Linked DNA regions of Homo sapiens: all the other regions are linked to region 3. Evidence: promoter capture Hi-C in human tissues and cell types (Jung and others, 2019). All regions are on one chromosome and are shown on one strand. Each heading gives the region's core, a stretch centred on a gene start or on the middle of the fragment in contact. The rest is flanking DNA. Distances are from core to core; before and after follow the strand shown. Region 1 overlaps ZNF793-AS1 (ZNF793 antisense RNA 1). Region 2 has its middle 6.5 kb from the start of ZNF607. Region 3 holds the start of ZNF829 (zinc finger protein 829).

Region 1 (3,988 bases), core at 1,341-3,840, 590 kb after region 3:
TGCAATCTTATTCGAAGATTCTATTGTTTTTCACTGAAGATAGGTATATACCTGTTCACTTGGAAATCAATTTCCAATGCCCTTGCTAATAAGTGAAATGAATCTTTGAATATCTGTAAAAGAGTTAAAAATTATAAGTTTTTGAAAATTATACTTTGATACTTGTTTCACCCATTGCCCCGGTGCTCTTCCTGCCTCCACATACTCTGAGGACAGGATGGGCTGTGGCCTCTCCTCATCCCAGGCTACTTCCACGGTCAACCTTGATCCAGGAGATGGTCACATCCCACCCAGATCCAGAGCACCCTACACTCATGCCAAGATACAGCCCTATTGACACTCAGGCCACAGCCTGGGAAAGATGGCAAGACCCCATCTCTACAAAAAAATAAAAATAAAAATAAATTAGCTGGGCATGGTGGTGTGTACCAGTAGTCCCAGCTACTTGGGAGGCTGAGGCAGGGGGATCACTTGAGGCCAGGAGTTCAAGGCTGCAGTGAGCCATGATTGTGCCACTGCACTCTAGCCTGGGCAACAGAGTAAGATCCTGTCTCTAAAAAAAAAAAAAAAAAAAAAACCAAAAAGCCAAACTAAACCAGACAAAACACCAAAAAATAAAAATAAAAAAAAAACAGCAACAAACTGAAGGGGGCCTGCCCCTCCACACCTGTGGGTATTTCTTGCAAGGTGGAGACGAGAGACTGAGAAAAGAAATAAGACACAAAGTATAGAGGAAGAAAAGTGGGCCCAGGGGACCAGCGCTCAGCATACAGAGGACCCGCGCTGGCCCCAGTCTCTGAATTCCCTCAGTATTTATTGATCACTATGTTGACCATCTCGGAGAGGGGCATGTGGCAGGACTATAGGGTAATGGTGGGGAGAGGGTCAGCAGGAAAACGTGAGCAAAGGACTCTGTGTCATAAATAAGTTTAAGGAAAGGTGCTGTGCCTTGATGTGCACGTAGGCCAGATTTATGTTTAACTTTACACGAACATCTCAGTGCAGTAAAGAGTATTGCCACCAGCATGTCTCAGCAACCACAAGGCGGTTTTCTCCTATCTCGGTAAATAGAATGTATGATCAGGTTTTATGAGACATTCCATTCCCAGGGACGAGCAGGAGACAGATGCCTTCCTCTTATCTCAACTGCAAAGAGGGCTTCCTCTTTCACTAATCCTCCTCAGCACAGACCCTTTACGGGTGTCGGGCTGGGGGATGGTCAGGTCTTTCCCTTCCCAGGAGGCCATATCTCAGGCTATCACATGGGAAGAAATCTTGGACAATACCCAGGCTTTCTTGGGCAGAGGTCCCTGTGGCCTTCCTCAGTGTATTGTGTCCCTGGGTACTCGAGACTGGAGATTGGTGATGACTTTTACCAAGCATACTGCCTGCAAACACATTTTTCACAAAGCACATCCTGCACAGCCCTAAATCCATTAAACCTTGAGTCAATACAGCACCTGTTTCTGCAAGCACAGGGTTGGGGCTAGGGTTACAGATTAACAGCATCTCAAGGCAGAAGAATTTCTCTTAGTACAGATCAAAATGAAGTTTCTTATGTCTTCCTTTCTCTACATAAACACAATAACAGTCTGATCTATTTTTCTTTCCCCCACAACAAACAACACTCAGGCCCAGGTAAGGTCCTTTCTGCTCCAGAGCAAGGAAGCGCTGTGCCTCCTTTTAGGCCAAATTTGGGGCCCTGTACCCTTTTAAATGATGACAGTGTCTAGGGCCACCACATTTAGTTCAAGGCTTGGACCTATAGGCATAAGCTCACTGGAACAGGTGAGAGCTGATGGTCACTGCAGGTTGGGTTAGCCCAGAGCCTTGGAGCTAGTCTGCCTAGAGGCTCCTTTCTCGAATTCCTCTGCCTAGAGGAATCACACTGTCATAGGCCATAAATGCTAATGATGACCTTGGCAGGGTCCTATCTTTCTGCAGACTATGATAAAGTTCTGTTACTTCTTTTCTCACTCCCTCTGTTCCCTGGCCCACATCATTACTCAATACTCTGAATAGTATGCTTTTTCTTTTAAAAATGAAGGTATAATTTACATATAATAACACAAATAAGTGTTCACTTTGATGAGTCTTTGACAATTACGTAGGCCCATGAAACTACCACATAAAACAAGACATAGAACATTTTCCTCACCCCCTAAATTATCTTCGAAGTCATAGCCCCAGCCAGGCACAGTGGCTTACGCCTGTAATCCCAGCACTTTGGGAGGCTGAGGCATGCGGATCGCTTGAGGTCAGGAGTTTGAGACCAGCCTGGCTAAGATGGTGAAACGCCATCTCTACTAAAAATACAAAAATTAGCCGGGTGTGATGGCGCATGCCTGTAATCCCAGCTACCTGGGAGGCTGAGGCACGAGAATCACTTGAACCTGGAAGGAGGTTGCAGTGGGCCGAGATGGAGATCTCACCACTGCACTCCAGCCTGGGAGACAGAGTAGAGACTCTGTCTCAGAAAAAAAAAAAAAAAAAAAAAAAATAGCCCCTGGAGTCAACTGCTTTCTGATTTATAACTCAATAGATCTGTTTTGCCTGTTCTTGAGTTTCTCATGACTGGAGTCCTACAGTGTGTACTCTTCTTTTACCTGTTTCCTCTTTCCATGTGTACTCCTTCCCCAATCAAGAGGTCAGCTCCTTGAGTAGCCTCTATTTTTACTCGAGTACTCAGTCTTCTTTTTCCCAATTCAGTTGCTGAGATATATTTAGGTTCTAATAAATTTTGGGTAAAATTTAATAATGATGCTAATGATCCTTTACTTCTGAATAACACAGAAACACCCAGCTCTGAATCCTTGTTGCTTTATTTACTCACTGAATGATTACGGACAGGTCACCTCACCCCCGTGTTGCAGTTTCTTTTGAAGCGTGATGATAACACTATCTTTACAATGTTTGTGGCAGTCTTTAATGTTATTCCAAAATATCGCCAGCTCTTCCCATCCCAGAATTATGGTAGGATTACATGTCTGCTATCACACTCCTGGGTGGCCATGTGACGTCTCAAAGACTAGTGAATGGAAATGACATGTATAGTTTTTGAGGCAGAACGTTTAATTCCCAGCAAAAGACCCTCAAAGGCTGTCTTTCCCTCGGCCTTCATGAGTGACAATTTACCAGTTGTGGCTGCTTTATTGGTCTAATCCTAGAATAAGAACAGCCCTTGAAGTGAGCAGGCCAGTGATCAATCAGGCATTTAATAGGCACTTTATAAATACTCATTTTACTTCAATATTATTATTTTTGTTTTTTTAGAGACAGAGTCTCACCCAGGCTGGAGTGCAATGGCACAATCTTGGCCCACTGAAACCTCCACCTCCTGGGTTCAGTGATTCTCCTACCTCAGCCTCCCGAGCAGCTGGAATTATAGGCGTCCACCATGCCGGCTAATTTTTGTATTTTTAGTAGAGACGGGGTTCCAACATGTTGGCCGGGTTGGTCTTGAACTCCTGACCTCAGGTGATCTGCCCACCTTGGCTTCTCAAAGTGCTGGAATTACATGTGTGAGCTACCATGCCCAGCCTAAATGGTGATTTTAAATTAATTACTATAATCACTTCAAAGTGTTGTCATATAAACCACTTATATTAAATCAAATGAAGCAAGGACCCTTGACCTCTTTGTTAAATTTTAAAAATCTAGCAGAGCCATAGGCCTTTAATTTTTCCATCGCAAGGAAGAAGAGGAAACTGGTAATAATCTCCTCTGACAGAATAATCTCGCAACTTTAGGAACTTTATTTAAAGAATTCAGAAATGGGGTTGGGCGCGGTGGCTCACACCTGTAGTCCCAGCACTTTGGGAGGTCGAGGCAGGCGGATCACCTGAGGTCGGGAGTTCGAGACCAGCCTGACCAACATGGAGAAACCCCGTCTCTACTAAAAATACAAAATTAGCCTGGCGTGGTGGTGCATGCCTGTAATCCCAGCTACTCAGGAGGCTGAGGCAGGAGAATCGCTTGAACCCGGGAG
Region 2 (4,085 bases), core at 490-2,989, 810 kb after region 3:
TTTCAGCCAGGTGCAGTGGCTTACACATGTAATCCCAGCAGTTTGAGAGGCTAAAGCAAGACCCTGTCTCTACTAGAAAATACAAAAAATTAGCTGGGCATGGTGGTGCATGCCTGCAGTCCCAGCTACCAGGGAGGCTGAGGTGGGAAGATCAACTGAGCTCAAGAGGTCGAGGCTGCAGTGAGCCATGACTGGGCCACTGCACTCCAGTCTGGGCCAAAGAGTGATACCCTGTCTTTAAAAAAAAAAAGAAAAAAAAAGTGCTTATATTTTGGTCTACCTTTGTCAACATATGAAATATCATTATAATTATTCTGATAACCTGTCAATTCTAATACGTGAGACAATTTTGATTAATCAATTTTGCTCCTCGTTATGTGTCATGTTTTCCTGGTCCTTTGCATGTCTTGTAACCTTTTTTTTTTTCTTTTTTTGAGACAGAGTCTCGATCTTGTTGCCCAGGCTGGATTGTAATGGTGTGATCTCTGCTCACTGCAACTTCCACCTCCCCGGGTTCAAGTGATTCTCCTGCCTCAGCCTCCCGAGTAGCTGGGATTACAGGCATGCACCACCAGGCCCGACTAATTTTTTGTATTTTTAGTAGAAACGGGTTTTCTTCGTTTTGGTCAGGCTGGTCTGGAACTCCCAACCTCAGATGATCTGCCCACCTCAGCCTCCCAAAGTGCTGGGATTACAGGCGTGAGCCACTGCACCCACCCGTCTTGTAACTTTTGATTGGATGCTAAACATTGAAATGTTACCTTGCCAGGTATTCTGGTATATTTTTCAATATTTTTGAGCTTTGTTTTGAAATATAGTTCACGTAACTTGAAAACAGTTTGATCTTTTTCATGGGTTCTTTTTCAGCTTTGATAAGGCAGGACCAGAGCAAGACTAATTAGTCCAAAGCTGATTTTTCCTCTCTCTTAAGACAGTATACTTCTGAGTATCCGAGGTCTTGTGAATTATGAGGGTTTTTCCACTTTGGCTATTGGTAACACCTGCTATTCCTGGACTTGTTTGAGCTATGAGGATTATTCCCTCTATTCATTTCAAGTGGGTTTTTCCACAGCTTCAGGTGTTTTCACATATAGCTAACTGGTCAGTACTTTCAGCTGAAGATTCAAAGGGAACTCCCTGGCAGCGCTCCAGAGATCTCTTCATGGAGGTTGTTCCTGTCTAGTACTTTGTTCCACATACCCTGGCTTCTGCAAATCCTCAAGTTTGTGTCTCAATTCGGGAAGAACACTGGGCTCTGCTTCTGTTAACTCTCCCTGAGCAATGGACTGAAAATACTCCAGATGTTAAGTTGGGAGAAATAATAGAGCTCACCTTGGTGGTTTCTGCAAATGGGGATTGTGGTCTGCTTGTTGTTCAGTGTCTGAAAACTGTCATTCTATATATTTTTAAAAATTATTGAGATGGGAGGGTACATCCTACCCTGTTATTATATCTTAAAAGTAAGCAAAATTTTAATTTTTTTTTTTTTGAGATAGGGTCTTGCTTTGTAGTCCAGGCTAACGTGCAGTGGTGCCCTCATGGCAGCCTCAAACTCCTGGCTCAAGCGATCCTCTTGCCTCAGCTTCCCGAGTAACTGGGACTACAGGTGCATGCCACCATGCCTGGCAATTTTTTTTTTTACTTTTTGTAGAGATGAGTCTTGTTGTTTTGTTCTCCAGCCTTGTCTCAAACTCCTGGGCTCAAAGGATCCTCCCACCTTGGCTTCCCAAAATGTGGGGATTACAGGAGTGAGCCACTGTGTTCAGCCTAAAATTATATCTTGCTTTATCTCAATAATGCTTATTTAAGAAGAAAAAGCTAAAAGAAAAACACTTAATGATCTCTTCCATAAGATCACCAAGACCAAGGCCCTGATCAAGAAACATGTGGTTGATAATCCACATGGTAAAGCTTTCTTTTTTTGTGATTACGTCTTTGCATGCGTGTGTCTCAGTGAAGACCATGGAAACTAGAGGAGTATCTAAAAATTGCTCAATTACCATTAACTGTAGAGAGAAAAATAGGAAGGAATAGAACATAAGTGCATAAAAATAGTAAGAATAGCCAGGCACAGTGGCTCACGCCTGTAACCCCAGCACTTTGGGAGGCCAAGGCGGGTGGATCACAAGGCCAGGAGTTCAAGACCAGCCTGGCCAAGATGGTGAAACCCTGTCTCTACTAAAAATACAAAAAATTAGCCAGGTGTGGTGGCGGACACCTGTAATCCAGCTATTTGGGAGGCTGAGGCAGAGAATTGCTTGAACCCGGGAGGCGGAGGTTGCAGTGAGCCAAGATCGCACCACTGCACTCCAGCCTGGGCAACAGAGTGAGACTCCGTCTCAAAAAAATAAAATATAAATCAATATTACAACTTTTTTGCATATTGTTTCCACTTTAAAATATTTAAGATGCTTTCAGACCGGGCGTGGTGGCTCAAGCCTGTAATCCCAGCACTTTGGGAGGCCAAGGCGGGCGGATCACGAGGTCAGGAGATTGAGACCATCCTGGCTAACATGGTGAAACCCCGTCTCTACTAAAAATAAAAAAATTAGCCGGGCAAGGTGATGGGCACCTGTAATCCCAGCTACTCGGGAGGCTGAGGCAGGAGAATGGTGTGAACCTGGGAGATGGAGCTTGCAGTGAGCCGAGATCATGCCACTGCATTCCAGCCTGGGCCACAGAGCGAGACTCCGTCTCAAAGAAAAAAAAAAGATGCTTTCAAGTATCTGCTAAAAATTAACGACTTTTCTTTGCTTTTTTAGAGACAGGTTCTCACTCTATTGCCCAGGATAGAGTGCAGTAGTGCCATCATAGCTCACTGCAATCTCAAACTCCTAGGATCAAGCAATCCTCCTGCCTTGGCCTCCAGAGTAGCTGGTACTACAGGCATGCACCAGTATGCCTAATTAAAAAAAATTTTTTTTTGTAGACACAGGGTCTCACTATGTTGCCAGGGCTGTTCTTGAACTCCTGACTTCAAGTAATCCTCCCTCTTCGGCCTCCCAAAGTGCTGGAATTAAAGGCGTGAGCCACCACACCCAGCCTATGATTTTTAATATATACCTAACATTGCTCAATTAATTTTGCAAATGATAATTAAGTGCTTGGCAATATTTCATTGGTTAAATCCATAAGATTATTTTTTATCTGAATAGAATATAAGTATTCAGAATATTCCTAATAGAAAGTTTTCTAATAATGGAAACATTGTATACAGTAGTCTCCCTCTTATCTGCAGGGGTTATGTTCCAAGACCCCCAGGGGAAGCCTGAAACCAAGGATGGCACCAAACCATCCTATTTTTTTACTAAACATATGTACTTATGATAAAGTTTAATTTATAAATTAGGCACAGCAAGAGATTAACAACAAGGAAACATTAGATAAAGAGGGGACTACTGTATCTGTAAAGTCCAATACACATGGCTATTGAACACTTAACTGTGACTAGTCCTACTGGTGAACTCAATTTTATGCCTTATTAAATTTAAATTAATTTAAAATGGCCACGTGTAGCTGGTGGCTACTGTATCTACCTGACAGTGCAGATCTAGAGGAATGTCAATTGCTTAATATTTAATGCAATCAATGCTAATTATGTGACAAATTATAATTTTAACATGAGGCAATAAAATAAAACTATTAGTGGATATTTACTCACCCTGCATTAAAATTTTTCACACATTAAAGAATCTGTCATTCTCATGAGGGCTGCTGGTAAGTATCCAAACACGTCTAAGCAGCAATGCATTTTATATATATATTTTTTTGAGATGAAGTTTCGTTCTTGTTGCCCAGGCTGGAGTGCAATGGCCCCATCTTGGCTCACTGCAACCTCTGTCTCCTGGATTCAAGCAATTCTCCTGCCTCAGCCTCCCGAGTAGCTGGGATTACAGGCATGCGTCACCCCACCTCACTAATTTTGTATTTTTTTTTTTTTAGTAGAGATGGGGTTTCTCCATGTTGGTCAGGCTGGTCTCAAACTCCTGACCTCAGGTGATCCACCTGCCTTGGCCTCCCAAAGTGCTGGGATTACAGGCGTGAGCCACCATGCGGGGCCCGCATCTTATATTCTTGCTAAAGAG
Region 3 (4,397 bases), core at 1,699-4,198:
CCTCTATCCTAGTATGTATCCTCTAATTTTCAGATAAAATGATTACCTGGTGAATGGATAACCTTACAATTTAGTGAGTTCCCCAAGATTAGAAGTGTTGAAACACAAACTGAATAAAGATATTTTTATTATTACTTGGAGGAAGAATCCAAAAACTCTGTAATTGCCTGCCATGCCCACTGCCCCCTCCTGAGATGAGGCAAGGTTCTTTTGTTTGCTTTGATTTCAGCTATAAGTATCAACTCTAAAAACCAAAAAGAGATAAGACACAGAAAAGAAGAAGAAATTCTAACATATGTTTAGTTAGAACCTGAGAAGGAAAGGGGGAGAGAATGATACGGGGGCTTTTTGAAGGTATAATGACTGAAGATTTTCCTGAACTAATAATAGATATCCATCCATAAATTTTAAAACTCTACAAATCCCAAGCAGACAAATAAAACACATTTATATATCTTACACTAAAATTACAGAAAGCCAAAAACAAAACAGTCAGAGGAAGACAAGGCAGATTACCATCAAGGGAGACGAGCTAATCAAGACTGTATGATACTGGCACAGGAATATAAAAAATCAGTGGAAGAGAATAAAGAGTTCATAAACATACCCATGCACATATAGACACTAGGTATATTTGAAGACCAATGAGAACACAATAGACCTTCCAATATATGGTATTGATAAACTGGGTATTAATAAGGAGGGGGGAATCTGACTCTTACCTCATAACATATACAAAAACCAGTTGCAACTATATAAAATATCTAAACATGAAAGTGAAACTTATGGCTTTAAGCATAAATATAGGAGAGTATCTGCATGACCTTGGGACAGGGAAGGATTTATTTAAAAAGATACAAAAAGCACTAACCATAAAGAAAAAATATTGATAAACTCAGCTTTTTAAAAATTAGAACTTATCATAAAATCATCTTACAGGAAATGATGAAATAGTCCAAATAGTAGGAAAACAATCAATAAAGGACTGAGATCCAGATTACATAAATAACTCATACGAATCAATAAGAGCTATTCCAAGAGAAAAATGAGTAAAGATTTGAACTGACATGTCACAAAAGATGACTAAAAACCAATAAACATATGGAATATGTTCAATTTTATTATTAATCACGGAAACCCAAATTCAAACCTGTGGGGGTGGGCGGGTATAAGTACAGATATATATTCAAATGAGGATTTAAAAGTCTGGCATGTCTGATTTGTATATCATAGTTTTTGCAAACATCAAAAATGTATTTCCCAAGACCATTTGATGACATGGGAGAATATTTCTGACACTTCTTTTTGCAAAAATGTAGAACATCAAATGGTAAATGAAATAAAATTTGGTTTTTGACAAATAATGAAAATACATTAAAATATTAACCCTAGTTATCTGAGTGGCTAAATTTTATTTTTTCTTGGTAATGCTGTGTTTTTGAGATCTCTAAATTAATCATCCTTTTATTTTTAAATCAGAATAAATATTTGAGAAGAAAATTCAGCAAGCATAAGTGGAGCAACCATCCTTTTCTGTGATGGGAAAATTATAGGGACCTATAATTAAATGACATTCCTTTAAGCAAGAATTTTCAGAAGAAAAAGAGGAAACCCCAACACACCTTGGATACTGCTTGTAGAAGTTCATCATGCATTCTTTCCTCCTCTTCTGGGTGACACCTGGAGAAAGGTAAAATTGGGAGAGGGAAGAGTAACTGTGAGACACCAGGTTTTTCTTGGTACCCAGATTAGTCAAGTAAGAGTTCTTCCCCAGCCCCATTACCCACCACACATGAGGAATGGAGATCAGAGGAGAATGGGGCATTCTGTCCAATTCCAGTGGCTCAGGGGAAAGGTTGTGTTCACTGCTGTCCAGGGTTGGAATCTGACCAGACCTCAGAGAGGTTTCCTAGAGACAGAGTTCTGGAGTCACAATCGCATAGTTGACAGGACCCCATACTCATACACAGAATGCCACATACATTTAGGGACAGTCACACTTAAGGCGACATGCACGTCTCACCTGCCCACAAGGAGCCACACACGGCAACACAGTTACAATCACATACACACCATAGGAAACACACAATTACAGCTGCACAATCGTAGGCACCCCACACTGTCGCAGAGTCACAATCACACATCACCACGGGAACACACAGCCACAACCCCCACAGTGACAGGTATCCCATATCCGCACATAAGCCGCAGTGTTATTATCTCCCAGACAATTTCACAACCTCCCCTCTTTTTTTGGGGGGGTGGGGTGGGGTGGGGACAGAGTCTTGCCCTGTCGCCAGGCTGGAGTGCAGTGGTGCGATCTCGGCTCACTGCAACCTCCGCCTCCCGGGTTCAAGTGATTCTCCTGCCTCAGCCTGCGAGTAGCTGGGATTACAGGCGCGCGCCACCATGCCTAGCTAATTTTTGTATTTTTAGTAGAGATGGGGTTTCACCATGTTGGCCAGGATGGTCTCGATCTCTTGACCTCGTGATCCTCCTGCCTCGGCCTCCCAAACACAACCTCCACCTTTCAGGCCGCTCCGCCCGCAGGGGCCCAAGGCGCCAGCTCCCCATCGGTCTTCGGTATCCTCACCTAAGCCCTTTCCAGTCATCCCGGATGGGAACTTGCAGACCTGAGCCAGTTCTCCTGGGGACCAAAATATCTCACCTCCCAGATCTAAGGGTCCCGCCAGGAGTGACGAAACGTTCGAATTCCTGCGAGAAAAGTGGCAGGCCACCAGGCCCTCTGGGAAATGTAGTCCAGAGCGGGACCCACGCCGATTCCTGTCAGCTCCTCGCCTGGGCCCACCCGAAACGGCTGCTCCCTCAACTCTCAACATCCAGCCGAGCCTCGGAGTTGCGGGTCGCCGTAGCGCTGCGCAATGGAGATGAGCCTCCCGGGGAACCCGGCCCAAGCCTCACCCTCACACAGGAAAGCAGATGTGTTCTGGCCGGAAGTTGAGTGGGGCCGCGGGGCCTGCTGGGAGGTGTTGTCCTCGGAAACGTCGCTGGCGCGGAGGGATGGTTCGGCGCTTTAGGCGTCTGTCACAGACCTATCTGCGGGTCGCCTTCACCCAGCATCTCAGAAACTGCGCGCGGGATGAACATTCGGGTGTTTCCGGCAGGTGACGCTGCCGAGTCCCCGCAGCAGGGGGCGAGCAAGGGACTCGCGGTTGACGGGACACGGATCCTCTAAGGCCCAGAGTGTCCCGAGTAGCGGCAGTGGGGAGTGCTCAGGGTACGCTAATGGTGAGTGGTTGCAGTTGATGGGACAAAAAACTGTGATGGGAGTTAGTGTGGGTGTGTGGTTGTGTGTGTGAGTGTGACGGCACGAATAATCTGATGGGGTGATTGTGATATTTGGTTGCGCGGGATTATGATGAAATGTGTGATATGTGTGTGATTATGATTAAGGCTGTAGCGAGTGTGAACGTGGCGAAGTGTGCGTGATTGTAATATGTCTAGTAGTTCTTGTCTTGAGCTGGCTTTTCTGTAGCATTTGGCACAGTTGGTAACGGCTTGAAAAACACTTATTTGTTTTCTACTGATCCTCCCTCCTTGTTGGCCACTCCTCTGTAGTCTTCTTTGCTGTCTTTTTTACCCTAGTAGCCCTTGGCCCTTTGTAATTTTCCACTATTCCTTGGCGAACTTTTCAGGTTCATTATTATCTTATGACTTGCTGCTTTTATGTATGTTAGTTAGCTATTGCCATGATAATAATTATGTCTAAAAACCACCCCTGAACTCAATGCCATACAACAGCAAGTCCTTACTCTCCTGTTCACAGGCTTGCGCATTGACTGTGTTCAGCTGATCTAGGTGGGGCTTGGCTGAGTGGATAGGCTGCGTGACGAGTTAAGATCTGCGCCGCATGTGTTCTTTCAGGGTCTCAGGCCAAAAGGACATTTGTTGCCAGGGCATGCTCTGCTCCTGATGGGTCACCAGAGCGCAAGAGAGATTGCCTCAACCAGAGCAAGTCACATGGCTAAGCCTAAAATCAATTATGCCCACAGTTGGAGAGCAAAGTTACCTCGCAAAGAGTATGAATAATAATCTATTAGAGGGTGTGAGGAATTGGACTAAAATTCCAGTCTACCACCTTAAGAAACATACCTCTTTATCCTGGTGAATGCCTTTTAGTCCGGGTTCTCTTTTGTCTGATAATATTGCTTTTCAAGTTTTATTGTATTTCTTAAGAATTTCATTTTCTAACCCCCTTGTGTCTTTATGTTTCAGATCTGTGTCTTGTAAAGAGCATATTGCTGGGCTTACATCCGTTTATCTTGTTTGACTGTTATTTTAATAGGTGAGTATAGTTCAGTGGCATTTATCATGATTGCTCATAAAAAATGTTTTATTTTCTATTACGCCTTAAACATTTTTGATTGACATATAAT

What was found. The method cuts DNA at HindIII sites, captures the fragments that hold promoters and counts their contacts. A contact is called where the count stands out against the background at its distance.
Region 1: a fragment that was not itself captured here is called in contact with the fragment with the promoter of ZNF829 in region 3 in 1 of the 25 tissues and cell types used here (dorsolateral prefrontal cortex).
Region 2: a contact is called between a fragment that was not itself captured here and the fragment with the promoter of ZNF829 in region 3, in 1 of the 25 tissues and cell types used here (dorsolateral prefrontal cortex).

The regions. Positions count from the first base shown.
Region 1 is chr19:37,501,102-37,505,089 of GRCh38, forward strand. All of the region lies in intron 2 of ZNF793-AS1 (ZNF793 antisense RNA 1), which reads right to left. Among named protein-coding and RNA genes, the nearest start is that of ZNF793, 3.8 kb to the right of the region's middle. The HindIII fragment of the contact is 3,954 bases long and covers 614-3,988 here.
Region 2 is chr19:37,724,222-37,728,306 of GRCh38, forward strand. No RefSeq gene overlaps it. Among named protein-coding and RNA genes, the nearest start is that of ZNF607, 6.5 kb to the left of the region's middle. The HindIII fragment of the contact is 5,602 bases long and covers 1-4,085 here.
Region 3 is chr19:36,913,343-36,917,739 of GRCh38, forward strand. ZNF829 (zinc finger protein 829) reads right to left here and starts at 2,949. Exons shown (of 6, transcript NM_001037232.4): 1 at 2,669-2,949; 2 at 1,788-1,909; 3 at 1,623-1,680. The coding sequence starts at 1,825. It overlaps ZNF568 (zinc finger protein 568), which reads left to right and starts at 2,990. Exons shown (of 7, transcript NM_198539.4): 1 at 2,990-3,249; 2 at 4,237-4,306. RefSeq lists enhancers at 2,585-2,634, 2,695-3,074. The HindIII fragment of the contact is 11,398 bases long and covers 1-4,397 here.